6 separate regions of the Homo sapiens genome follow, and all the other regions are linked to region 1. Evidence: promoter capture Hi-C in human tissues and cell types (Jung and others, 2019). All regions are on one chromosome and are shown on one strand. Each heading gives the region's core, a stretch centred on a gene start or on the middle of the fragment in contact. The rest is flanking DNA. Distances are from core to core; before and after follow the strand shown. Region 1 holds the start of ZNF808 (zinc finger protein 808). Region 2 overlaps ZNF347 (zinc finger protein 347). Region 3 has its middle 5.3 kb from the start of ZNF613. Region 4 holds the start of ZNF845 (zinc finger protein 845). Region 5 overlaps ZNF845 (zinc finger protein 845). Region 6 overlaps ZNF525 (zinc finger protein 525).

What was found. The method cuts DNA at HindIII sites, captures the fragments that hold promoters and counts their contacts. A contact is called where the count stands out against the background at its distance.
Region 2: a fragment that was not itself captured here is called in contact with the fragment with the promoter of ZNF808 in region 1 in 1 of the 25 tissues and cell types used here (aorta).
Region 3: a fragment that was not itself captured here is called in contact with the fragment with the promoter of ZNF808 in region 1 in 4 of the 25 tissues and cell types used here (dorsolateral prefrontal cortex, heart right ventricle, hippocampus and 1 more).
Region 4: a contact is called between the fragment with the promoter of ZNF845 here and the fragment with the promoter of ZNF808 in region 1, in 1 of the 25 tissues and cell types used here (spleen).
Region 5: a contact is called between a fragment that was not itself captured here and the fragment with the promoter of ZNF808 in region 1, in 2 of the 25 tissues and cell types used here (bladder and dorsolateral prefrontal cortex).
Region 6: a contact is called between a fragment that was not itself captured here and the fragment with the promoter of ZNF808 in region 1, in 5 of the 25 tissues and cell types used here (adrenal gland, dorsolateral prefrontal cortex, lymphoblastoid cells and 2 more).

Annotation. Positions count from the first base shown.
Region 1 is chr19:52,525,245-52,529,180 of GRCh38, forward strand. It overlaps ZNF808 (zinc finger protein 808), which reads left to right and starts at 2,424. Exons shown (of 5, transcript NM_001039886.4): 1 at 2,424-2,467. RefSeq lists enhancers at 1,043-1,869, 1,870-2,697. The HindIII fragment of the contact is 14,459 bases long and covers 1-3,936 here.
Region 2 is chr19:53,147,860-53,151,912 of GRCh38, forward strand. It overlaps ZNF347 (zinc finger protein 347), which reads right to left. Exons shown (of 5, transcript NM_032584.3): 3 at 1,382-1,508; 4 at 822-950. Among named protein-coding and RNA genes, the nearest start is that of ZNF347, 9.2 kb to the right of the region's middle. RefSeq lists a silencer at 1-184. The HindIII fragment of the contact is 9,121 bases long and covers 1-4,053 here.
Region 3 is chr19:51,920,100-51,924,162 of GRCh38, forward strand. No RefSeq gene overlaps it. Among named protein-coding and RNA genes, the nearest start is that of ZNF613, 5.3 kb to the right of the region's middle. The HindIII fragment of the contact is 6,337 bases long and covers 1-4,063 here.
Region 4 is chr19:53,332,499-53,336,634 of GRCh38, forward strand. It overlaps ZNF845 (zinc finger protein 845), which reads left to right and starts at 1,251. Exons shown (of 4, transcript NM_138374.3): 1 at 1,251-1,294. RefSeq lists enhancers at 367-1,231, 1,330-1,379, 1,650-1,739 and a silencer at 1,040-1,259. The HindIII fragment of the contact is 26,552 bases long and covers 1-4,136 here.
Region 5 is chr19:53,353,265-53,357,490 of GRCh38, forward strand. ZNF845 (zinc finger protein 845) reads left to right here. Exons shown (of 4, transcript NM_138374.3): 4 at 1-3,642. The coding sequence ends at 324. It also overlaps the pseudogene LOC107987264. Among named protein-coding and RNA genes, the nearest start is that of ZNF525, 10 kb to the right of the region's middle. The HindIII fragment of the contact is 6,579 bases long and covers 1-4,226 here.
Region 6 is chr19:53,378,027-53,382,400 of GRCh38, forward strand. It overlaps ZNF525 (zinc finger protein 525), which reads left to right. Exons shown (of 4, transcript NM_001348156.2): 4 at 2,696-4,374. The coding sequence ends at 3,993. Among named protein-coding and RNA genes, the nearest start is that of ZNF525, 15 kb to the left of the region's middle. The HindIII fragment of the contact is 5,110 bases long and covers 303-4,374 here.

The sequences.
Region 1 (3,936 bases), core at 1,174-3,673:
ATGTTTCCAGGTGGCTTTCTTCAAGCTTTGTGTTCACATTAACTCTGTACTTAATCATATATTTTAAATTTTATTATTTACTGCTGACATCAATTTCTGTCGTATGGTAGGCGCCTGACCAGAGAGGGCACCTGTCGCCATGTTGTAAAACTCAAACTTGCCAAAAAGACATGGGTTAGGGTTTCTTCCCCTCCCTCGGGATGAAGCTAGTTAGCTGACACAGATGGTCACCTCCATTACCAAGTAGAGCCAGGATGAACTATGTGCGACCAAGGGTGTTGTCAAGTCCTCTTCCCTGAGGACTGATTAGTGTTTATCTTGAAAATATGTCCTTAATGGGTTGTATAGAACAGTGAAGTTTCTTTCTCTCTTTTCAACCTCTTAGCTGTTTGCCTCTATTTCCCATCACATTCTGGTCAAGGCTTATTGATTTATTTATTTAGAGACGGAATCTCTTCTGTCGCCCAGGCTAGAGTGCAATGGTGCGATCTCGGCTCATTGCAAGCTCCGCCTTCTGGGTTCACGCCATTCTTCTGCCTCAGCCTCTCCGAGTAGCTGGGACTACAGGCGCTGGGCACCACGCCCGGCTGATTTTTTTTTTTTGTTTTTTTTGAGACCGAGTCTTGCTCTGTCACCCAGGCTGGAGTGCAGTGGTGCTATCTTGGCTCACTGCCAGCTCCGCCTCCTGGGTTCACGCCATTCTCCTGCCTCAGCCTCCCCAGCAGCTGGGACACAGGTGCACGCCACCACACCTGGCTAATTTTTTTGTATTTTTAGTAGAGACGGGGTTTCACCATGTTAGCCAGGATGACCTCGATCTCCTGACCTCGTGATCCGCCTGCTTCAGCCTCCCAAAGTGCTGGGATTACAAGCGTGAGCCCCCATGCCCGGTCCTAAGGTTTATTTATTAACAAAATGGTTTTTATTTCTTTCTCTGTTATCGTCGTGGAGATGATTTCTCATTTGGGATAATATTTTTTAGTTTTCAATTATATTTTGTCAACATTTAAAAAGCAAAGTAAAGAATATTTCTTGGGCCAGGCATGTTGGCTGACGCATGTAATCCCAGCATTTTGGGAGGCTGACACAGGCAAATAACTTAAAGTGAGGAGTTCGATACCGGCCAGGTCACCGTAGTGATACCCCGTCTCTATGAAAAATACAAAAATTAACCGGGCATCGTGGCACGCGCCTGTAATGCCAGCTGCTCCCGAGGCTGAGGCAGGAGAATCGCTTGAACCCAGGAGGCAGAGGCTGCATTGAGTTGAGATCTCGCCACTGCACTCCAGCCTGGGCAACAGAAATACTGTGTCTCAATAATAGTAATAATAATAATAATAATAATAAAGTAATAGATCTCTTCCACAAATGTGCTGGGACAACTAACTGGATATCCACATGGAAAAGAGTAATGTTGGATCCCTATGTCACACCATCAAAAATTTTATTTAAAAAAGTTTTTTTTTTTTTTTTAAAAAGGGAAAAGGCCCGGGCGCGGTGGCTCACGCCTGTAATCCCAGCACTTTGGGAGGCCGACGTGGGCGGATCACCTGAGGTCGGGAGTTCAGCCTGGCTAACATGGTGAAACCCTGTCTCTACTAAATATACAAAATTAACTGGGCATGGTGGCGCATGCCTGTAGTCCCAGCTACTCGGGAGGCTGAGGCCGGAGTATCGCTTGAAACCAGGAGGCGGAAGTTCTAGTGAGCTGGGATCACTCCACGGCACTCCAGCCTGGGCGACGGAGTGAGACTCTGTCTCCAAAAAAAAAAAAAGGGAAAGAGAGAGAGAGAGACTAGGAAGGGAGACCTGCCGCAGTGGGTGTTACTTTGTCGCCCAGGCTGGCTTGGGACCCCAGGCTCAGCAATTCTCTCCGTTGCTTCCTGAGTAGCTGGGACCTGAGGCTCCCGCCCCCGCGCCTCTGCTGTGTTTAAGCAGCAGGTGGTGACCTCACTCCTTCCTGGCCTAAGCACTCCGTCCCGCACCCCTGGCGGTGGCTTTAAGGAAGTCTCTGAAGCTGAGCTCAGGGTGGACTCTCCCTCCCTAGTGAATGGAGATAGAAAGGGAGAGGACATCTATTCTGTTCCGTGGGCCGTCACCATGACATCGTACATGCCGCCCAGGCAGGGCTTTGCATTTCACATTCTAGTTTGCATCCCGGTTCCAGACAATTCCAGGGCTTTGGAATCATGCCTCAGACTTTCTGGCGCTCTCGCCTCCACAACCTAAAAACAGAGACGCTAGGAGAGAGGCTGAAAGACGCGCAAGTCCCGCCCCGGCCCCGCCCCGGCCCCGCCCTCTGCCGGTTCTAAAGGGCAAGGTCTCAGCGCCTCGCGCCCCGCCGCTACCTCGCCCAGGCCCCGCCCACCTCCTCCCACCTCCCGCCCAGGCCTGGCTTCCGTCCTGCGCGCGGAGATTAACGCAAACCCGGAAGCGGATCGGGTGGAGTGAAGGTCACGTCGCCATGGTGAGTTTTGCTCTGTGTTGCATTAAGTCTCCGCTTCCCAGGTCCCCGCCGCTTCTGTCCCTGGGACGTGGGGTCCCCACAGACCTGGAAATTCTCGCCCGTCTTCCTTCGCCCAGAGCAAATTGAGACAGCCCAGTGAGAGGCCGGGTGTCGCTTCCTTTCGGGTTTAAAGTCGTCTGGAGGCTGGTCCCGTCCCGGGTCTGTCTGCTATAGGGCAATGTATACACTTTCTATTGCGTAGTTTTTCTGCTCAAAACCTTCTTCTGACTCTTCCCTCCTCGCGCTATTTAAAGTCTTCACCCACGAGGTGGATTCTTGCCCGGGGCGCACCTCCCAGCCACCCCTCGTCGGCCCCTGGAGCGTCGCGCCGCAGCCCCAGTCCCAGGGAGGCCGCGTCCTCTGCCTGGTCCTGGGATCTTGCAGACCCCATCCTTCTCCCAAGGCGCCGTCCCCCCTCCTCCCACCTCCCTACTCGTGCCAGAGCCTGCGGCTCCCCAGGTCTCTCCTCCGCAGTCACCGCTTCCATTGAACCCACACTGGGAAGGACGCAGGGCCCTGTCCTGTGACATGGGGTCTTCTTGCCTGCCGAGCTCCAGCCCTTGGAAAACGCGCTCCTCCGGGATGCAGGCGTCTTACTCCAAACCCTCCTGCGATTGTGTGGGCCGAAGGGATCAGGAGACAGACAGCAGTAGAAAACCTGAGACAGAGAAAGAATAAGAAAGGCCCATAACAGATGGCAAAATAGAGGATTGGTGAGGGATATGCCAAGATATGGTGAAAGTGGAAAAAGAAAGCAACAAAATACCTAGAAAAGCAGGTGGAGAAAAGCAACTGGAGAAATGTAGAGAAAAGCTAGATGTACACAGAGATGAAGGACGGCAAGGTAGGGAGAGTGGCAGCAAAGAGGGAGGCTCATCAGAGTGAGGGAGAGAGGGAGGGATTTGGAGCCAGGGCAGACAGAGCAGAGTGGTGCTGGTGTCAAGGAGAACCGAGGGAGAAACACAGCAGGGAGGACACCTGGGGATCTGGGGTGACACAGAGTGGGGACAGGGGAGTATATCAGGGAAGAGAGAATTTAACAGGGAGAGCAGAGGAGGCGCAGAGATGGGTGAAGAGGCAGAAATAGATGGAGATTGAGGACGATTGAAAGATTGGGGAGAAGGAGCAATAAGAGGTTAAATAAGTTGCGAGGATGGAGCAGAAGAGATGGAAGAGAAGGAATAGAGGGAAGAAGGGGGATAAACAGCAGAAGAGAAGAGGGGTACAAAATGAAGAGCAGAATCCCAGGGAGAAAGAAAAGAAAACAAGAGCTAGAGAGAGAAGGGGGAGAATGAGAGATATGTACAGAATTAGGGAGGGAAGCGCAGTAATGAAGAAAGGGGGGCTAGGCACAGTGGCTCACGCCTGTAGTCTCCACACTTTAGGAGACTGAAGCAAGAGAATTGCTTGAGTCTAGGAGTTCGAGACCA
Region 2 (4,053 bases), core at 1,499-3,998, 620 kb after region 1:
CACACAAATCAATTAATGTGATTCATCACATCAACAGAATCAAAGACAAGAAGCATATTATCATTTCAATAGATGCTGGGAAATGACTCAATAAAATCATTATCTCTTCCTAATAAAAAGTCTCAACAACTTGGGTACAGAAAAAACATACCTAAGCATGATAAAAGCCATATATGACAAATCCAGCAGGAATGTACTAAATAAGAAAAAACTGAAAGCCTTTCTGCTAAGATCTGAAAGACAAGGATGTCCACTTTCACTACTTCTATTCAACATAGCATTGATGTTCTAGCCAAAGCAATTAGGCAAGAGAAAGAAATAAAAAGCATACAGATTGAAAAGGAAGAAGTCAAAATATACTTCTTTGCAGATGACATGATTTTATATTTAGAAAAACCTAACAACTCCACTAAAACACTCTTAAAATTTAGCTAACTATATAGAATTTGGATCTGTAAGACTGAGAACTGGGCATCAGATAGAATCAACTACAGAAGGAAACACCAAAGGAGATGAAATAACCCTTTTGTAACAGCCCTCCCTGTGCCACACGGAGTCAAGGAACCAGAGTTCTCAGAAGCTAGAAAACAGTGTTGTCCATCATGATAAAGACTTTGCCTTTGTCTGAGCTGCAGCACCACTGGAAGGTGAAAGGATAAACTAGTACAAGTCTAAAGGATAGACAAAAGGGGGCAAATAAAGATTTCTGTTCTGAGGTCACAGAATTCAAACTTGTTTTCCCACAGAACTCTCAGATTTGCATAGAGTTTCCCAAACACTATTTAATAAACGGCATTTTCTCTACCCATCTGAACTCTTACCTGTGATCACAGCTTTGATCCATTCCCATCCATCTGGGTTTCCTGCTATTTGTACTTGGCTCTCCAAAGTGAAAGGCTCCTTCCCTTGCTCCAACATAGAGATAATACTGAGGTCAAAACAAGAGATTCCTGCTTATGAAAAGAAAGGAAAACAATGGGCTGTAGATTTTCCAGAGTCCCAGTCCTATGTTTACATGAGGAGGGAGGACTTTACAGCTGTATCTAAAAAAACACTTCAAAAATTCATCCACTAAATGCTTCTTTATAAATTGTTAGGAAACACTATAATATGCAAATATATAGCTCTCATCCCAAAACCACTGAATCAAAGCATGGGGATAGAAAACAGGGAATTGGATATTTTAAAAGTCCTGAAACCCTCCAGTGACATCAGGAAGAGGAAAATTAAAATCCAGTTTCCACATTATGGAGATTTTCATTTTTCAGTCAACACAGCTTCAGTCTCAGCCAAGCAATGCATGAGCTCCCAGGAGAGCCACATGGAAAATGAAAAGATACACAGGGGCAGATCCTGACTTCTGGAAGAAAGTCATCCTCACCCAGGGAGGCCAGGTTCCTATAATTCTCCAACATCACGTCCCTGTACAAAGTCCTCTGAGCGGGGTCCAGGCATGTCCACTCCTCCTGAGAGAATTCTATAGCCACATCCCTGAATGTCACCTGTCCCTAAAATGAAAAACACATCCACCAGGGGGATATAAGGAAAAGCTCCAATCTTCACATAAAATGAGAAGACAGAATAGATTAAACTGGAGTAAGTGGGCCGATATCCAAGTTGTGATATAATAAAATATACATATGGTCTTCATCCCCCTTTCCTGACATACATCTCACTTGGAATCTCTGGAGTGATAAGTGCCTTTGTAAGCTAATGAGATGACTGGTGGCTGGAGGCCCCAAGATAGTTTCAGAATGGCGGGGTGGTCACCAGAAAGACCAAGGCTGGATTACAGAGTTGGGACTTCGAGCCCCATCCCCCAACTTACCCTGAGGGGATGGGGGCTGAAGGCTCGGCTGATCACCAGTAGCCAAAGATGTAAGCAATCGTGCCCACTTAATGAAGCCCCCATAATAACCCGAAAGGACAGGGCCTGAACAAGCTTCAGGATAGGGAAACACACGGAGGCTCTGAGGACGCCCCCACCGACCCCCACCAAAGACAGCACTCAGCCTCCCAAGTAGTTGGGATTACAGGCATGCACCACCACGCCATGCTCCTTCTCCCATACCTTACCCAATAGACTGCTTACATCTGGCTGTTCATCTGTATACTCTGTAATATCCTATATAATAAATGGGTCAATATAAATAAAGTGTTTCCCTGATTTCTCTGAGCCATTCTAGCAAATTAATCAAACCTGAGGAGGGGGTCATGGGAATTCATGATGTATAAGCCAGTCAGTGAGAAGCAGAGACCATCTGTGTTTGCAACTGGCATTGAAGTGGGCACACTCTTGTTGGATTGAGCCCTCAACCTGTGGGATCTGATGCTATGTCCAGGTAGACAGTGTCAGAATTGAACTGAATAGGAGGTCACTCAGCTGGTGTCCAGTGCAGAATTGCTCCCTTGGTGTGTGTGGGAAAACCCAGGACATCTGGGATCACAGATGTGTTTTCCGTTGTGAGAGTACAGTAGGAGAAACTGGGTCTGTTTTCACCACATCCTCACACACACAGGTATTTTTGGGCAGAATGTTTCCTTAATTCTGTCTTCTTATACTCTTCTATAAGAGGTTATGATAGTCTTTAAATCAGTGTTGATTTCTCAGTTTTGTAGACAATACAAAAAATACACAAATATACAAATAAAAAACCAACACCGGGTTATCTTTATTGAAGTGCTATATATTATGTCTAACACACCAAGTGATATTCAGTATTTAGATGATCTAGAGCATGAGTGATGTCTTACGAGATGAAAATGTGTACAGTGACTTTAAAGAAAGGTCAGAATCTAAAAACTGTGATCATCGCAATAACAATGACAGATGTTTCTGAGCACTTCCCAAGTGCAAGGCATTATTCTATTTATTTATTTACTTACTTACTTATTTTTTTGAGACAGAGTCGCTCTATCACCCAGGCTGGAGTGCAGTGGCATGATCTCAGTTCACTGCAACCTCTGCCTCCTGGGTTGAAGCGATTCTCCGGCCTCAGCCTCCCAAGTAGCTGGAATTACAAGCACCCACCACCACACCCGGCTAATTTTTGTATTTTTAGTAGAGATGGGGTTTCACCATGTTGACCAGGCTAGTCTCAAACTCCTGACCTCAGATGATCCACCCGCCTTGGCCTCCTAAAGTGCTGGGATTACAGGCGCAAGCCACTGTGCTCAGTCTGGCATTATTCTAAATAAATGTCCTGCATGTACTAACTTGTATATGAATATGATAGCCCATGAGAGAAAGATCTGTTCCCATCTTACTAGCAGATAAATGTATATGACAGACACTCTAAGAAACTTGCGTCAAGACAAAGAGCTAAAATGTCAGAGCAAGCATCTGAATCCAGGTGTCTGGGAATAAGAATTAAACCTAAAGAATCAAATAGTTGGCCAGGCGTGGTGGCTCATGCCTATAATCCCAGCACTTTGGAAGGTCGAGGCAGGCAGATCACGAGGTCAGGAGATCAAGACCATCCTGGCTAACATGGTGAAACTCCGTCTCTACTAAAAAAATACAAAAAAATTAGCCAGGCATGGTGGCGGGCACCTGTAGTCTCAGCTACTCAGGAGGCTGAGGCAGGAGAATGGCATGAACCCAGGAGGCGGAGCTTGCAGTGAACCGAGACTGTGCCACTGCACTCCAGCCTGGATGACAGAGCAAGACTGTCTAAAAAAAAAAAAAAAAAAAAAAATCAAATAGTTAAGTAAAAGAACATGAAAAGGATCTAAATGAGCAAAGTTGAAACAAGTTCATGAATAACAACATGGAACTTCATAAAAGGTAATTACATATATACACACATCTATTTATGCCCATAATATGTAACTATTCTTACTATTAAATCATTAATGTGATAGCTGAGAACAAATTTAAGGACACAGAAAATATTTAAGATACAATTTGAATTGCTAAAAAACACAAAACTTATTTAAAATCATGATGTGTGGGCTGGGTGCAGTGGCTCACACCTGTAATCCCAGCACTTCGGGAGGCCGAGGAGGGCGGATCACGAGGTCAGGAGTTCGAGACCAGCCTGACCAACATGG
Region 3 (4,063 bases), core at 547-3,046, 610 kb before region 1:
TTACATAGTGGCCCCCCCCAAACAGTGACAGAATCGAGTGCTCCACAGTGGTTATCTATAGGAACATCTGAAGCCTGTTGTATAAAGAAAGTAATTATGTGTACCTCTAATGAATCAAAGCAGCTGACCAACCGTTACCTCTCTCTCCCTATTGATTCTACCTAATACATATGAAGGGCTGTAGAAGCTGAGGGCTGTCTTTGCTCACTAGAAGCAAGGAGTCCCCTGACCCCTTCTTTTAAAATGTATCTTTTTGTCTTTGTCTTCACTTCTGCATTTGTCCCATTTCGTTCAATCCCATAGGAACAGACTGTAACAGGCATTGACATTTTGGTTTGGAGAATTCTTTATTTTGGGGCACTGTAGTGTCATTGTAGGATGCTTAGCAGCATTCTTAGCCTCTATCCACTAGCTCCAATTAGCACACCCTCCTTTCCCAGGTGTGACAATCAAAAATTTCTCCAGACATTGCCAAATGTCACCTGGGGTCAAAAAATGAAAACCACTGATAAAAAAAAAAGCAGAATATTGAGGACTCTTTGTGGAAGACCATATGATGGTCATAGAATCCATCCATCTTAAAAATCTCTACATTTTATCCCTGAATAAAAACAGACCCCCAGGAGGCTGTGGACTTTGGCTACACTGTTCTGGGTCCCTGAAGCACTCTGATCACTGAGTTTGGTTTTGGTATTACACCACTGGCTTATCTGTGGGGGCACTAACTTCTATATGATCTATATCATGACCCATCAAAGAAATTTCTTCTTAAGTAACATGAAATATTCACTTTTCTAGAGGAGCTTTCTCCTCAGGGAAAAGGAAACGATTTGTTATTGTGTCCATGTGGTAGACTGCATTTCCCAAAGATGACCACAATAATATCTCACATTCCAAAGAAAACCTTCTGCTAAATCTTGCCACTCCCACACGAAGAGATGGAGCCTATTCCCTTCCCCCTTGAACCTAGCTAGTCTTGGTGATTTGCTTGTACCTGCAGAATACAACAGAGGTGACACAACATAACTTCCGAGGCTAAGGCAGAAAAGCATGGGGGAAAGAATGAGAGATCAGACTATTACTGCATCTATGTAGAAAAAGGAAGACAAAAGAAACTCCATTTTGATCTGTACTAAGAGAAATTATTCTGCCTTGAGATGCTGTTAATCTGTAACCCTAGCCCCAACCCTATGCTTGCAGAAACATGTATTGTATTGACTCAAGGTTTAATGGACTTAGGGCTGTGCAGGATGTGCCTTGGTAAAAATGTGTTTGCAGGCAGTATGCTTGGTAAAAGTCATGGCCATTCTCCAGTCTCGAGTACCCAGGGACACAATGCACTGCAGAAAGCCACAGGGATCTCTGCCCAAGAAAGCCTGTGTATTGTCCAAGGTTTCTCTCCACTGAGACAGCCTGAGATATGGCCTCATGGAAAGAGAAAGACCAGACTGTCCCCCAGCCTGACACCCATAAAGGGTCTGTGCTGAGGAGGATTAGTGAAAGAGGAAGACCTCTTTGCAGTTGAGATAAGAGGAAGGTATCTCTCTCCTGCTCATCCCTGGGAATGGAATGTGTCAGTGTAAAACCCGATCGTACATTCTATTTACTGAGATAGGAGAAAACTGCCTTATGGCTGGAGGTGAGACATGGTGGGGGCAATACTGTCTTTACTTCACTGAGATGTTTGTGTAAAGTCAAAGATAAATCTGGCCTATGTGCATATCAAGGCACAGCACCTTTCCTTAAACTTATTTATAACACAGAGTCCTTTGCTCACGTTTTCCTGCTGACCCTCTTCCCACCATTACCCTATAGTCCTCCCACATCCCCCTCACCGAGATAGTAGAGATAGTAATCAATAAATACTGAGGGAACTCAGAGACCAGTGTTGGTGCGGGTCCTCCGTATGTTGAGTGCCGGTTCCCTGGGCCCACTTTTCTTCCTCGATAGTTTGTCTCTGTGTCTTATTTCTTTTCTCAGTCTCTCGTCTCCACCTTGTGAGAAATACCCACAGGTGTGGAGGGGCAGGCCTCCTTCATCTGGCACCCAACATGGGGCACGAACCCATGACCCTGAGATTAAGAGTCTCATGCTCTACCGACTGAGCTAGCTGCAGAATGCAACAGAGGTGACACAACATAACTTCTGAGGCTAAGGCAGAAAAGGCCCTGTGGCCGCATCTTGGCTGTCTCAGAGCCAGCATCATGCTGTGAGAAGCCCATCCATGTCACATGTGGAGGTCACACACAGGTGCTCTGGCTGGCAGCCTCCTTGAGCCTAGTTTTCAAGTAATCCCAGCCTGGCACACAGATACAGAGAGGAAGAAGCCTTCAGATGATTCCAGTCCCCAACCTTCTGAGTCTTCCAGTTGAGATTCAAGACATCATGGTGTGAAGACAAGCTGTGCAGTAAAGGATAAACAGAGCGAGTCTGGGTTACCCAGAAACTGAACATTCCAAAGAAAGGCTCAGCCCTTCCCTATACCTGGCAGGTAACTTCTAAACCAAGCTTGTCCAACCTGCGGACCATGGGGTGCACATGGCCCAGGAGGGCTTTGTTTTGTTGTTGTTGGTGGTGGTGCACACAGCCCAGGAGGGCTTTGTTTTGTTGTTGTTGTTGTTGTTTTTGTTGTTTGAGATGGAGTTTCACTCTGTTGCCCAGGCTGGAGTGCAGGGGCACAATCTCAGCTCACTGCAACCTCCAACTCTCAAGTTCAAGCGATTCTCCCACATTCGAGCAATTCTCCTACTTCAGCCTCCCAAGTAGCTGAGATTACAGGCATGTGCCACCATGCCCAGATAGTTTTTTGTATTTTTAGTAGAGACGGGGTTTCACCATATTGGCAAGCCTGGTCTGGAACTACTGACCTCAAGTGATCTGCCCACTTCAGCCTCCCAAAGTGCTGGGATTACAGGCATAAGCCACTGTGCCTGGCCTCCAGGAGGGCTTTGAATGCAAAACAAATTTGTAAACTTTCTTAAAACATTATGAGATTTTTTGAGTTTTTTTTCTTTTTTCTTTAAGCTCATCAGCTATTGTTAGTGTTAGTATATTTTATGTGTGGCCCAAGACAATTCTTCTTCCAGTGTGGCCCAGGGAAGCCAAAAGACTGCACACTCCTACTCTAAGCCGTTGGAATATATTGTCCGATGAGGGTCTTTGTTTACTGGGAGCCTTGGGTCACACAAGATCGTCTATGCTAACAATGTATGATGGAAGCCTTGGGCCACACTGTAGTTATGGTGGCCTCTGAAAGGGCTGAAGAATAAGGTCAGCCACTCATGTGCTCAGCCTCACCCATATAACTAAAGCCAAATAAAAACCCTGGACACCCAGGCTCAAGTGGGCTTCCTGTACTGGCAATACATCATGCCTGTCGTCACACATCATGGCTAGGACAATCAAACATTGTCCATATGACTCCACAGAGAGAGGAAAACTCAAAGCTTCTGCACAGCATCTCCCAAACCCTGCCCTACACACCTTTCTCTGTTTCTGATTTTAACTGTATCCAGTCTATGTAATAAAATAAAATCATGAATATGACAGTTTTGCTGAGCTCTGTGTTATTCTAACAAATTATTGAACCTGAGGAACCCCAGATCTTGCGATCCCCAGAACATACAAGCCATCACCATGTCTCACTTCCTGACTCAGTGAATCCATGCAGATCATAAAAGTAAATTCACATCTCTAGGTCTTGGGCTGGCTTGCTATATAGCAACAGATTACTTGGAATAGGGAAACAGTCATAACAACATTTTAGTCCATGATGGGTTGCACACACAATGGTGGTCCCTTAAGATTATAATGGAGCTGCCAACAAACATATGAAAAAAAGCTTATCATCACTGGTCATTAGAGAAATGCAAATCAAAACCACAATGAGATACCATCTCATGCCAGTTAGAATGGCAATCATCAAAAAGTCAGGAAACAACAGATGCTGGAGAGGATGTGGAGAAATAGGAGCACTTTAACACTGTTGGTGGGAGTGTAAATTAGTTCAACCATGTGGAAGACAGTGTAGCAATTCCTCAAGGATCTAGAACTAGAAATACCA
Region 4 (4,136 bases), core at 1-2,500, 810 kb after region 1:
CAGTACCCGTATCTCGGTAGGAAATTAAATATTTCAAACATCAAATAATTCCAATGTAAATGTATGGATCTTTAAATAATTCTGAGCCTTGAAAGGAATGTGGTCATGCAAGCTGAGTCCAGTGGTATGCAGGCGCAACTTCTAAGAGTTTTCCTGGCCAGACGCGGTGGCTAACGCCTGTAATCCCAACACTTTGGGAGTCCGAAGCAGGTGGATCACTTGACGTCAGGAGTTCGAATCCAGCCTGGCCAACGTTGTGAAACCCAGTCTCTACTAAAAATACAAAACTATTAGCCAGGCTTGGTGGCGCGCGTCTGTAATCCCAGCTAGTTGGCAGGCTGAGGCAAGAGAACTACTTTAACCCGGGAGGTGAAGGTTGCAGTGAGCCGAGATCTCGCCACTGCACTCCAGCCTGGGTGACAGAGAAATACTCTGTCTCAAAAAAGAAAAGAAAAGAAAAGAAAAATCTAAATATAAAAATGAAAGTAATAGATCTCTTCCACAAATGTGCTGGGACAACTAACTGGATATCCACGTGAAAATGAATAATGTTGGATCCCTAACTCACAAAATCAAAAATTTTATTTAAAGAAATTTTAAAAAAGGAGAGAGAGAGAGACGAGGAAGGGAGCGCTGCCGGAGGAGGTGTTACTTTGTCGCCCAGGCTAACTTGGACCCCCCCCCCGGCTCAGCGATCCTCCTGCCACTGCTTCCTGAGTAGCTGGGACCTCAGGCTTTCGCCCCGCGCCCGCATCTCTGCTGTGTTTAAGCAGTAGGTGGTGACCTCACTCCTCCCTGGCCTGAGCACTCCGTCCCGCATCCCAGGGGGAGGCCCTAGGGAAATCTCTGAAGCTGAGGACAGGGTGGACTCTCCTTTCCCAGTGAATGGAGAATAGAAAGGGAGAGGATTTCTATTCTGTTCTGTGGGCCGTCAGCATGAAATCGTATGTTCCACCCAGGCAGGGCTTTGCATTTCACATTCTAGTTTGCATCCCCGTTTCAGACAATTCCAGGGCTTTTGAATCATGCCTCAGCCTTCCTGTCCGGTCTCGCCTCCAAAGCTCGAAAACAAGAGGCGCTGGGAGCGAGGTTGAGAGACGCACGGGTCCCACCCCGGCCCCGCCTTCTGCCAATTCTAAAGGGGAAGGTCTCTCCGCTTCGCGCCCCGCCCCTACCTCGCTCAGGCCCCGCCTACCTCCCCGCGGGTCCCGCCCAGGCCTGGCTTCTGTCCTGCGCGCGCAGATTCGCGCAAACCCGGAAGCGGATCGCATGGAGTGATGGTCCCACCGCAGCGGTGAGTTTTGCTCTGTGTTGTGTTAAGTCTGCGCTTCCCAAGTCCCCGGCGCTTCTGTACCTGGGACGTGGGGTCCCCATAGACCTGGAAATTCTCACCCGTGTTCCTTCACCTAGAGCAAATTTAGACGTCCTCGTCAGAGTCCAGGGGTCGCTTCCTTTTGGGTTTAAAGTCGCCCTGAGGATGGTCCCTTCCCGAATCTTTCTGCTATAGGGCAATGTATACACTTCCCATCGCGTAGTTTCCCTGCTCAAAACCTTTTTCTGACTCCTCCCGACCCGCACTTTTTAAAGTCCTTACCGCGAGGCGGATTCCCGCCCTTGGCGCCTCCCAGTCTTGTCTTAAGGCGCCGTCGCCCCCCACCTCCCTCCTCGTTCCAGGCCCTTATGCTCCCCAGGTCTCCCCACCGCAGTCACCGCTTACCCTGAGCCCGCGTTGGGGAGGTGCCCGGGGCTGTCCTATGACACCGGGTGTTCTTGCCTGCCCTGCACCAGCCCCTGGAAAATGCGCTCCTCCGGGATGCAGGCGTCTTACTCCAAAGCCCTCCTGTGATTGTGTTGGCCAAAGGGATCAGGAGACTGAGAGAGAGAGCAGTAGAAAACCTGAGACAGAGAAAAGAAGAATGAGAAAGACCATAACAGATGGCAAAGTAGAGGATGAGTGAGGGATTTGCCAAGAGAGAGCAAAAATGAAAAAAACAAAACAAAACAAAAAACAGCAGGAGGAGCAGATCCCAGGGAAAAAGAAAACAAGAGCTAGAGAGAGAAGGGGAGAATGAGAGATATGTACAGAATTAGGGAGGGAAGCACAGTAATGAAGAAAGGGGGGCTGGGCGCAGTGGCTCACGCCTGTAATCCTAGCACTTTAGGAGACTGGGGCAGAGGGATTGCTTGAGTCCAGGAGTTCAAGACCGGCCTGGGCAAAATAGTGAGACCCCCCCCCCCATCTCTGTCAAAAAAAAAAAAAATTTAACTGGGCGTGATGGTGCACACCTGTAATCCCAGCTGCTCTGGAGGCTGAGGCAGGAGGATCACTTGAGCCCAGGAGGTCCAGGCTGCAGTGAGCAGAGATCATGCCACTGCACTCCAGCCTGGTCAACAGAGCAGAGCCTGTCTCAAAAGATTAAAAGGGGTGGGGGACTTTGGGTTCAGATGAGTGGGTGAGTTCATTGGATATGATTAGTTGTGATATGTTGACTTCTGTTTATATAATCTAATAACTTAGAACTTGTTTAAATTATACAGATGATATTGAGAATTTTAAAATTCCTATCTATAAGACACATACATTCTGTAAATCTTGGCATTAGAGGTCAGCTTCCACTTGGAATCCCTATTCAGCCAGAGGGTAGTGACTTAATTCAATTGTGAGAGCCTCTCTTCCCTCTTCCCATGGTGAGGTAGGAAATGGGGCAGTGAAGTGGGAGAAAAAAATCACTTTCTGTTATTATGTAATAATTTTAATTTAATTAATTAATTTATAGTTTGAGACAGGGTCTGGCTCTGTCGCCCAGGCTGGGGTGCAGTGGTGTGATCTCCTCTAACTGCAGCCTCGACCTCCTAGGCTCAAGCGATCCTCTTACCTCAGCCTCCTGAGTAGCTGGGACCACAGGCGTGAGCCACCAAGTCCGGCTAGGTTTTGTATTTTTTTTTTGTAGAAATGGGGTTTCACTGTTTCCCAGGCTGGTCTCAATTCTGGCCTCAAAGGATCGTCCTGCCTTGGCCTCCCAAATTACTGGGATTACAGGTGGAATTACAGAGAGGAGCCACCGTGCCTGGCCTACATAGTCGTTTTTTGTTTTTTGTTTTTGTTTTTGTTTTTGTTTTTTTGAGATGGAATCTCACTCTTGTCCAGGATGGAGTGCAATGGCACAATCTCGGCTCGCTGCAATTTCCGCTTCCCAGGTTCAGACTGATTCTACTGCCTCAGCCTCCCAAGTAGCTGGGATTACAGGCATGAGCCACTGCATCCAGCTAATTTTGTGTTTTTAGTAGAGACGGGGTTTCTCCATGTTGGTCAGGCTGGTCTCAAACTCCCAACCTCAGATGATCCACCCGCCTTGGCCCCCCAAATGCTGGGATTACAGGCATGAGCCACCACGCCTGGCCCATAGTACTTTTTAAAAGGGACATCAGGGCGTAGTGGCTCATGCCTGTAATCCCAGCACTTTGGGAGGCGGAGGCAGGTGGATCACAAGGATCACAAGGTCAGGAATTCAAGACCAGCGTGACCAACATGGTGAAATCCCATTGCTCCTAAAAATTCAAAAATTAGTTGGGCATGGTGGCATGCACCTCTAATTCCAGCTACTTAGGAGGCTGAGGCAGGAGAATCACTTGAACCCAGGAGGCGGAGGTTGCAGTGAGCCAAGATTGCGCCACTGCATTCCATCCTGGGCGAGAGCGAGACTCCATCTCAAAAAAAAAAAAAAAAGGAACATCAAAGCTGGGCGTGGTGGCTCATGCCTGTAATCCCAGCACTTTGGGAGCCAATCACCTAAGGTCAGTAGTTTGAGATCATTCTGGCCAACATGGTGAAACCCTGTGTCTAGTAAAAATACTAAAAAAGTAAGCTGGGCATGGTGGCATGCATCTGTAGTTCCAGCTGCTCGGGAGCCTGAGGCATGAGAATCACATGAACTTGGGAGGTAGAGGTTGCAGTGAACCGAAATGGTACCACTGCACTGCAGCCTGGGGGGCAGAGCGAGGCTTCATCTCAAAAAAACAAACACCACCACCAAAAAATGAAAGCAAAAGGCACATCAAAAGTGCTTTTGTTCTCGTTGTGTAACATATTTTCTTTTTTTTCTTTCTGGTTCCTCTTCCTTCCTTTCTTTCTTTCT
Region 5 (4,226 bases), core at 208-2,707, 830 kb after region 1:
TGTGGCAAGGTTTTTAATAGAAAAGCAAACCTTTCACGTCATCATAGACTTCATACTGGAGAGAAACCTTACAAGTGTAATAAATGTGGTAAGGTTTTTAATCAACAAGCACACCTTGCATGTCATCATAGAATTCATACTGGAGAGAAACCTTACAAGTGTAATGAGTGTGGCAAAACCTTCCGTCACAATTCAGTCCTTGTAATTCATAAGACAATTCATACTGGAGAGAAACCTTACAAGTGTAATGAATGTGGCAAGGTTTTTAATCGAAAAGCAAAACTTGCACGTCATCATAGAATTCATACTGGAAAGAAACATTAGAAATATGAAGAATGTGACAAAGTTTACAGTTGTAAATCAAGTCTTGAAAGACAGGAGAATTCATACTGGAGAGAAAGCTTACAAATGTAAGAGTTTGTGACAAGAATCTTGGGCGTGATTCACACCTGGCCCAACAAACTAGAAGTCACACTGGAGAGAAACCTTACAAGTGTACTGAGTGTGGCAAAGCCTTTAGTGGGCAGTCAACACTTATTCACCATCAGGCAATCCATGGTATAGGGAAACTTTACTAATGTAATGATTATCACAAAGTCTTCAGTAACACTACAACCGTTTCAAATCATTGGAGAATCCATAATGAGAGATTTTGAAAGTGTAATAAATGTGGCAAATTTTTCAGACATTGTTCATACCTTGCAGTTCATCGGTGAACTCATGCTGGAGAGAAACCTTACAAATGTCATGATTGTGGCAAGGTCTTCAGTCTAGCTTCATCTTATGCAAAACAGGAGACTTCATACAGGAGACAAACTTCACAAGTATGATGATTGCAGCAAAGCCTTTACTTCACGTTCACACCTAATTAGACATCAGAGAATCCATACTGGACAGAAATCTTACAAATGTCATCAGTGTGGCAAGGTCTTCAGTCTGAGATCACCCCTTAAGGAACATCAGAAAATTCATTTTTGAGATGATTGTTCCAAATGCAATGAGTATAGCAAACCATCAAGCATTAATTGGCATTAGAGTCAATTCAGCATTGACTTGAGTTTGAATTGACTTAACATTGAGTTCAAGCATTAATTGACATTAAAGTGTTTATGTTAAGAAGATTGGGCCAGGCGGGGTGGCTCACGCCTGTAATCCCAGCACTTTGGGAGGCCAAGACCAATAGATCACTTGAGGTCAGGAGTTTGAGACCAGACTGGCCAACAGACATGAGTCACTTTTCCCACCCTGTATTTTGTTTCTTTAATAAAAACTGTTACGGGTTTTTATGGGTATCTGTTGAATCTAAATCACATTTGTTTGTATAATCATTCAACAATATTAAGACTTCCAATCCATCAATATGGGTTGTATGTCTATTTAGTTTTTTTGATCAATGTAGATTTCAAGGTACAAGCTTCTCACCTCCTTAATTCAGTTTATTTGTAAGTATTAAGTTTCATAGCAAATTGAAGTGTGTTCATAAGTTTCTTTAAACATTATTTATTGTTAATGTAAGGAAATTCAACTAATTTTGGGTGCTGATTTTGTATTCTGCAAATACATTGAGTGGGTTTATTAGTATCAGTAAAATCTTGGTTGATTCTTTGTGATTTTCTTTCTTTTTTTTTTGAGACAGTCTCACTCTGTTACCCAGGCTCTTTTCTTTTTTTTTGAGAAGGAGTCTCACTCTTGTCACTTGGACTGGAGTACAATGGCACGATCTTGGCTCACTGCAGCCTCTGCCTTTCGGGTTTAAGTGATTCTCCTGCCTACTAACTGAGATTACAGGTGCCTGCCACCATGTCCGTATAATTTTTTTGTATTTTTAGTAGAGACGGGGTTTCACCATGTTGACCAGGTTTTTCTTGAACTCCTGACTTCAGGTGATCCGCCCCCATCAGCATCCCAAAGTTCTGGGATTACAGGTGTGAGCCACCGCACCCAGCCAGTGATTTTCTATATAGAATGTCGTATCATCTACAAGGAAATAATTTTTTTTTTTGAGACAATGTCTCTCTCTGTCGCCAGGCTAGAGTGCCGTGGAATGATCTTTGCTCACTGCAACCTCTGTCTCCCACGTCCAAGCAATTCTGTCTCAGCCTCCTGAGTAGCTGGGACTACAGGCGCATGTCACCACACCTAGCTAATTTATTTATTTTTTTTATTTTAGTAAAGACGGGGTTTCACCATGTTGGCCCAGATGGTGGGCCAACATGGTGAGTACCTTGAAGAGAACTTGAAAGAATATGTTAGATCGCCTAACCTCATTATCCGCCCACTTCGGACTTGCAAATTGCTGGGATTATGGGTGTGAGCCATGAGCCCGGCCCCAACAAATGTAATTTTACTTCTGTCTTTCTGATTTGGATGAGTTTTATTTCTTTTGCTATTTAATTGCTCTGCCTAGGACAGCCAGTATTTATTGAATATCAGGGGTGAGAGCATTCTTGCATCATGTGATATCCTACAGGAAAACCATTCCATTTTCCTTCATTGGTTATTTCAGCTGTGGTCATTTCATGGATGATTTTTATATTTTTGAGGTAAAACTCTACCTATATTGTTTAGGATTTTTACGAAGAATGAATATTGAGTTCTGTGAAATGCTTTTTCTCTATCTATTGAGATAATGTGTTTTTTATCTGTCATTCTGTGCAAGTGTGTATCCCATTGATTTGAGTATGTTGAACCATCCTTGCATCCCATGAATAGGTAGCACTTGGATGTTTACAATCCCTTTTTATATCCTCTTGAATACAGTTTGCTAGTATAAGGGTCTTCAAGAAGTTCATGGAAAAATACATATTATGAAAAATTTGTGCATAAATTTCACACTTTTTGTACCAAAATAAACCAGTATAAACTTGTTATAACGTCTGAACAGGCTCTAGTTTGAGGCACTCAGAAGGATAAGACATCAGTTTGAAAAGAACCTCTATCACAGCAATACAAATTCTGTTAAAACAAGAAGAAACATCAAATTTACGATGAGACCAGACGCAGTGGCTCAGGCCTGTAATCCCAGCGGTTTTAGAGGCCCAGGCAGGTGGGTGACGTGAGCCTAGGGATTCAAGACCAGCCTGGGCGACATAGGGGACCTCTTCTCTGCTAAAAGTAAAAAAAGTCAGCCAGGTGTGGTGGTGCACTGCTGTGGTCCCAGCTACTCTGGGCACTGAAGTGGGAGGATCAGTTGAAGCAGGGATTTTGAGGCTGAAGTGAGCCCTGATCTCACCACTGCACTCCAGCCTGGGTGACAGAGCTAGACCCTGTCTCAAACAAGCAAATAAATGAGAGGCATAATTCCTCCTTTGAGAATAAAGGAAAAGATTTCCCTTCCTTTTGTCTCTTTTCTCAGGACGTTTATTTAGAAAATTTGTAAATGAGGCCGGGCGTGGTGGCTCACGCCTGTAATCCCAGCACTTTGGGAGGCTAAGGTGGGCGGATCACGAGGTCAGGAGATCGAGACCATCCTGGCTAACACGGTGAAACCCCGTCTCTACTAAAAATACAAAAAATTAGCTGGGCGAGGTGGCAGGCACCTGTAGTCCCAGCTACTCGGGAGGTTGAGGCAGGAGAATGGCGTGAACCCAGGGGGGCGGAACCTGCAGTGAGCCGAGATCGCACCACTGCACTCCAGCCTGGGTGACAGCGAGACTCTGTCTCAAAAAAAAAAAAAAAAAAAAAAGAAAATTTGTAAATGTATTTTCTCTGTCTTCAGAAGTGGTATTTTTTAGAAACAATAAAACTTGTTTTCATCTTAGTGGTGATCCAGGGGTGTTTTTCTAAAGGACTTGGGAGTTCTGTCTTTGAAATGCCAACAACAAAAAAGATAGTACATCTATCTCAGTAGTAAATTAAGTAATTCAAAATGAAGCTGGGTGCGGTGCCTCACGCACTTTGGGACAGTGAGGCAGGTGGATCACCTGAGGTCAGGAGTTCGAGACCAGCATGACCAACGTGGTAAAACCCCATCTCTGAGATACAAAGGAGGTTGCAGTGAGTGGAGGTTGCACCACTGCACTCCAGCCTGGGCAACAAGAGTGAAACTACTTCTCAAAAAAAAAGAAAAAAAAATCAAGTAATTCCAATTTAAAGCTGTTGGACCTTTAAATAATCCTACTTTTTTTTTTTTTTTGAGATGGGGTACCCCTCTGCATCACAGGCTGGAGTGTGGTGGCCTAATGTCAGCTCACTGCAACCTCCACCTCCCGGGTTCAAGTGAATCT
Region 6 (4,374 bases), core at 1,608-4,107, 850 kb after region 1:
GAAATAGCTTAGACTGGCCAGCTGAGGTGGGTCATGCCTTAATCCCAGCAGTTTGGGATGCTGAGGTGGGCAGATAGCTTGAAGTCAGGAGTTTGAGACCAGTCTGGCCAACATGGTGAAACCTCGAATCTACTAAATACAAGAAATTGGCTAGGTGTAGTGGCTCAAGCCTGTAATCCCAGCACTTTGGGAGGCCGAGAGGGGCGGATCACCTGAGTTAAGGAATTTGAGACCAGCCTGACCAACATGGTGAAACCCTGTCTCTACTAAAAATACAAGAATTAGCTGGGCGTGGTGGCACATGGCTGTTATCCCAAGTACTCGAGAGGCTGAGGAAGGAGAATCTTGAACCCGGGAGGTGGAGGTTGTAGTGAGCCAAGGTTACACCACTGCACTCCAGTCTGGGCACCAAAGTGAGACTACAGGCTGAGGCGGGAGAATCTCTTGAGGCAGGAGAATCGTGCCACTACACTCCAGCCTGGGTGATAGAGCGTGACTCGGTCTCAAAAACAAACAAAAAAAGAAATAGCTTAAACTGGGAGGCTTAAGACACAGAAATTTATTTCTCATGAGTTTGGAAAGTGGGAAATCCAAGAGCAAGGTGCCAGCCACATTGGTTCCTGGTGAGAGCCTTCCTCATGGTTTAGCCCAGCCATCTTCCTGCCATGTCCTGACATGGTGGAAACAGGAACAGGCAACGAGCTCTTTAATGTCTCTTTTTATGAAAGCACAAGTCCTATTCACGAGTAGTCAACACCCGTGACCAAATTGTCTCAAAGGCCCCATCTGCAGGAACATCCTATTGGAGAATAAGAACTCTGAACATGGCGTTTGGCCAATACAAACATTCAGACCAGGGAGCCTGCATCATCTTATTTATGTTTTTATTGTTTAATTTGTTTCATACAATGTTTTCTCTGATCTCAGTTTATAAATTTTCCCAGTACACATTCTATGTTTTATATTTTATGCATAGTGAACTAGATACATAGGGCAATGTATATATATATATAGAATTGCTGTATTGCCTGGCTGTTTCATAAATGTAGTTGTGACATCATAATTGCACCCTCCGGCACTATTAGTCAATTCTTTTTTTTTTTCTTAGAGACGAAGTCTCACCCTGTCACTCAAGCTGGAGTGCAGTGGTGGGACCTTGGCTCACCACAAACTCTACCTCCTGGGTTCAAACGATTCTCTTGCCTCAGCCTTCTGAGTAGCTGAGATTACAGGCACCCGCCACCACACCCAGCTAATTTTTTTGTATTTTTAGTAGAGTTATGGTTTCACCACGTTGGCCAGGCTATTCTTGAACTCCTGACCTCATGGTCTTCCCACCTCGGCCTCCCAAAGTGCTGGAATTACAGGCATGAGCCACTGCACCCGGCTGTTAGTGAATTCTTATTCATTATAATGCTGCATATTTTTTTGACCTCATACATCAGAAGGTAGTGATCTTAACATGTATTTCAGTTCTTATATTGTGTGCTGGTGGTAAGTAGAAGTTGTGCTTTTTTCTTAACAGGGAATTGTTTAGAATTCTGCAGTTTGTATAAATGTACTTATGATTTGCTTGCTGGTTTTATGCGTTACAGTTATTTTACCAATTCATTTTTATGATTTTACATAAAGCTTTTCGGTATGTGGTATGCAATATAACTGACACAGTTTACTAGTTAATGTCACAAAGTGCCAGCGGGTGCTGTGGCTCACGCCTGCAATCCCAGGACTTTGGGAGGCTGAGGCGGGTGGATCACTTGAGGTCAAAAGTTCAAGGCCAGCCTGGCCAATATGATGTAACCCTATCTCTACTAAAAATACAAAAATTAGCCAAGCATGCTGGCATGTGCCTGTAATCCCATGTACTCAGGAGGCTGAGGCAGGAGAATGGCTTGAACCCAAAAGGTGGAGGTTGCAGTGAGCTGAGATCAGGCCATTGCCCTCCAGCCTGTTGTGACACAGTGAAACATTGTCTCAAAAATACAAAAATAAAAAAAAAATTTTAAATGTTACAATATGCCTTTTCTGCATGGATATAGGTAATTTTATGACAGTTATTCAGAAAAATATTTTTTTTTTTTTGAGATGGAGTCTCACTTTGTCATCCAGGCTGAAGTACAGTGGTGCGATCTCGGCTCACTGCAACCTCTGCCTCTTGGGTTCAAGCAATTCTTGTACCTCACCCTTGCGAGTAGCTGGGAGTACAGACGTGCACCACCATGCCTTGCTAAATTTTGTAAACTTTTCTTATCTTCTCAGTGCTATGATTATTTAACAATACAGAATTTCCATTGATTTTGGTTATCCTTACATGAGCTTGCTGTGGATTATTTACCAGTATATTATATTGTGTGGTCCTTTAGTATTTATTTGTATACAGTAAGTATGCTGTAAATATGAAGAATATATACTTTTCATTGATGTGACAGTGATATGTCTTTTGCAAACTGTTAGACACTTTAGGGTCACAGTGGAAAAATACTCCTTATTTTAGGCTTACACATGTTTGTGCCCTTCAGTGTTTTGTCATGATATTGGAAATAAGCTTTCATAATAATAATTTGAAGCACATGTAATCGCCCTTTATTTATTAAAGAATCTTACGATTTTGTGTTCCTAAACTTTGAAGATCATGTTTGGGAAGTTTAAAATCAGTATTGTCTTTTGTGTACCTATTAGTGTTTATATTTTGTAGGTATCTCTTCCAAATGCACAATGAAGGAGTTCTCATCAACAGCACAAGGCAATACAGAAGTGATCCACACAGGGACATTGCAAAGACATGAACGTCATCACATTGGAGATTTTTCCTTCCAGGAAATTGAGAAAGATATTCATAACTTTGAGTTTCAGTGGCAAGAAGATGAAAGAAATGGCCATGAAGCACCCATGACAAAAATCAAAAAATTGATGGGTAGTACAGAGCAATATGATCACAGGCATGCTGGAAACAAGCCTATTAAATATCAGCTTGGATCAAGCTTTCATTCACATCTGTCTGAACTCCACATATTTCAGCCCAAAGGGAAAATTAATAATCAAGTGGAGAAGTCTATCAACGATGCTTCCTCGGTTTCAACAGCCCAAAGAATTTCTTGTAGGCCCAAAACCCATATATCTAATAACTATGGGGATAATTTTCTGAATTATTCATTACTCACACAAAGACAGGAAGTACGCATGAGAGAAAAATCTTTCCAATGTATTGAGAGTGGCAAAGCCTTTAATTATAGCTCACTCTTAAGGAAACATCAGATTATTCATCTAGGAGAGAAACAATATAAATGTGATGTATGTGACAAGGTCTTTATTCGGAAGCGATACCTTGCACGCCATCGTAGATGTCACACTGGTGAGAAACCTTACAAGTGTAATGAGTGTGGCAAGTCCTTCAGTCAGATGTCATCCCTTACATATCATCATCGACTTCATACTGGAGAGAAACCTTACAAATGTGAAGAATGTGACAAAGCTTTCAGACACAATTCAGCCCTTCAAAGACATAGGAGAATTCATACTGGAGAGAAACCACATAAGTGTAATGAGTGTGGCAAGACCTTTAGTCAGAAGTCATACCTTGCATGCCATCGTAGCATTCATACTGGAAAGAAACCTTACGAATGTGAAGAATGTGACAAAGCTTTCAGTTTCAAATCAAACCTTGAAAGTCATAGGATAACTCATACTGGAGAGAAACCATACAAGTGTAATGATTGTGGCAAGACCTTCAGTCATATGTCAACCCTTACATGCCATCGTAGACTTCATACTGGAGAGAAACCTTACAAGTGTGAAGAATGTGATGAAGCTTTCCGTTTCAAATCAAGTCTTGAAAGACATAGGAGAATTCATAATGGAGAGAAACTGTACAAATGTAATGAGTGTGGCAAGACCTTCAGTCAGGAGTTATCCCTTACCTGCCATTGTAGACTTCATAGTGGAGAGAAACCTTGCAAGTGTGGAGAATGTGACAAGGCTTACAGTTTCAAATAAAATCTTGAAATACGTCAGAAAATTCATACTGGAGAGAAATGTTATAAGTGTAATGATTGTGGCAAGATCTTCAGTCATACGTCATCCATTGTATACCATCATAAATTTCATAGTGGAGAGAAACCTTACAAATGTGAAGAATGTGATGAAGCTTTCAGTTTCAAATCAAACCTTGAAAGACATAGGAGAATTCACACTGGTGAGAAACCTTACAGGTGTAATAGGTGTGGCAAGACCTTCAGTCATACATCATCCCTTACATGCCATCATAGACTTCATACTGGAGAGAAACCTTACAAATGTGAAGAATGTGATGAAACTTTCAGATACAAATCAAATCTTGAAAGACATAGGAGAATTCATAATGGAGAGAAACCGTAC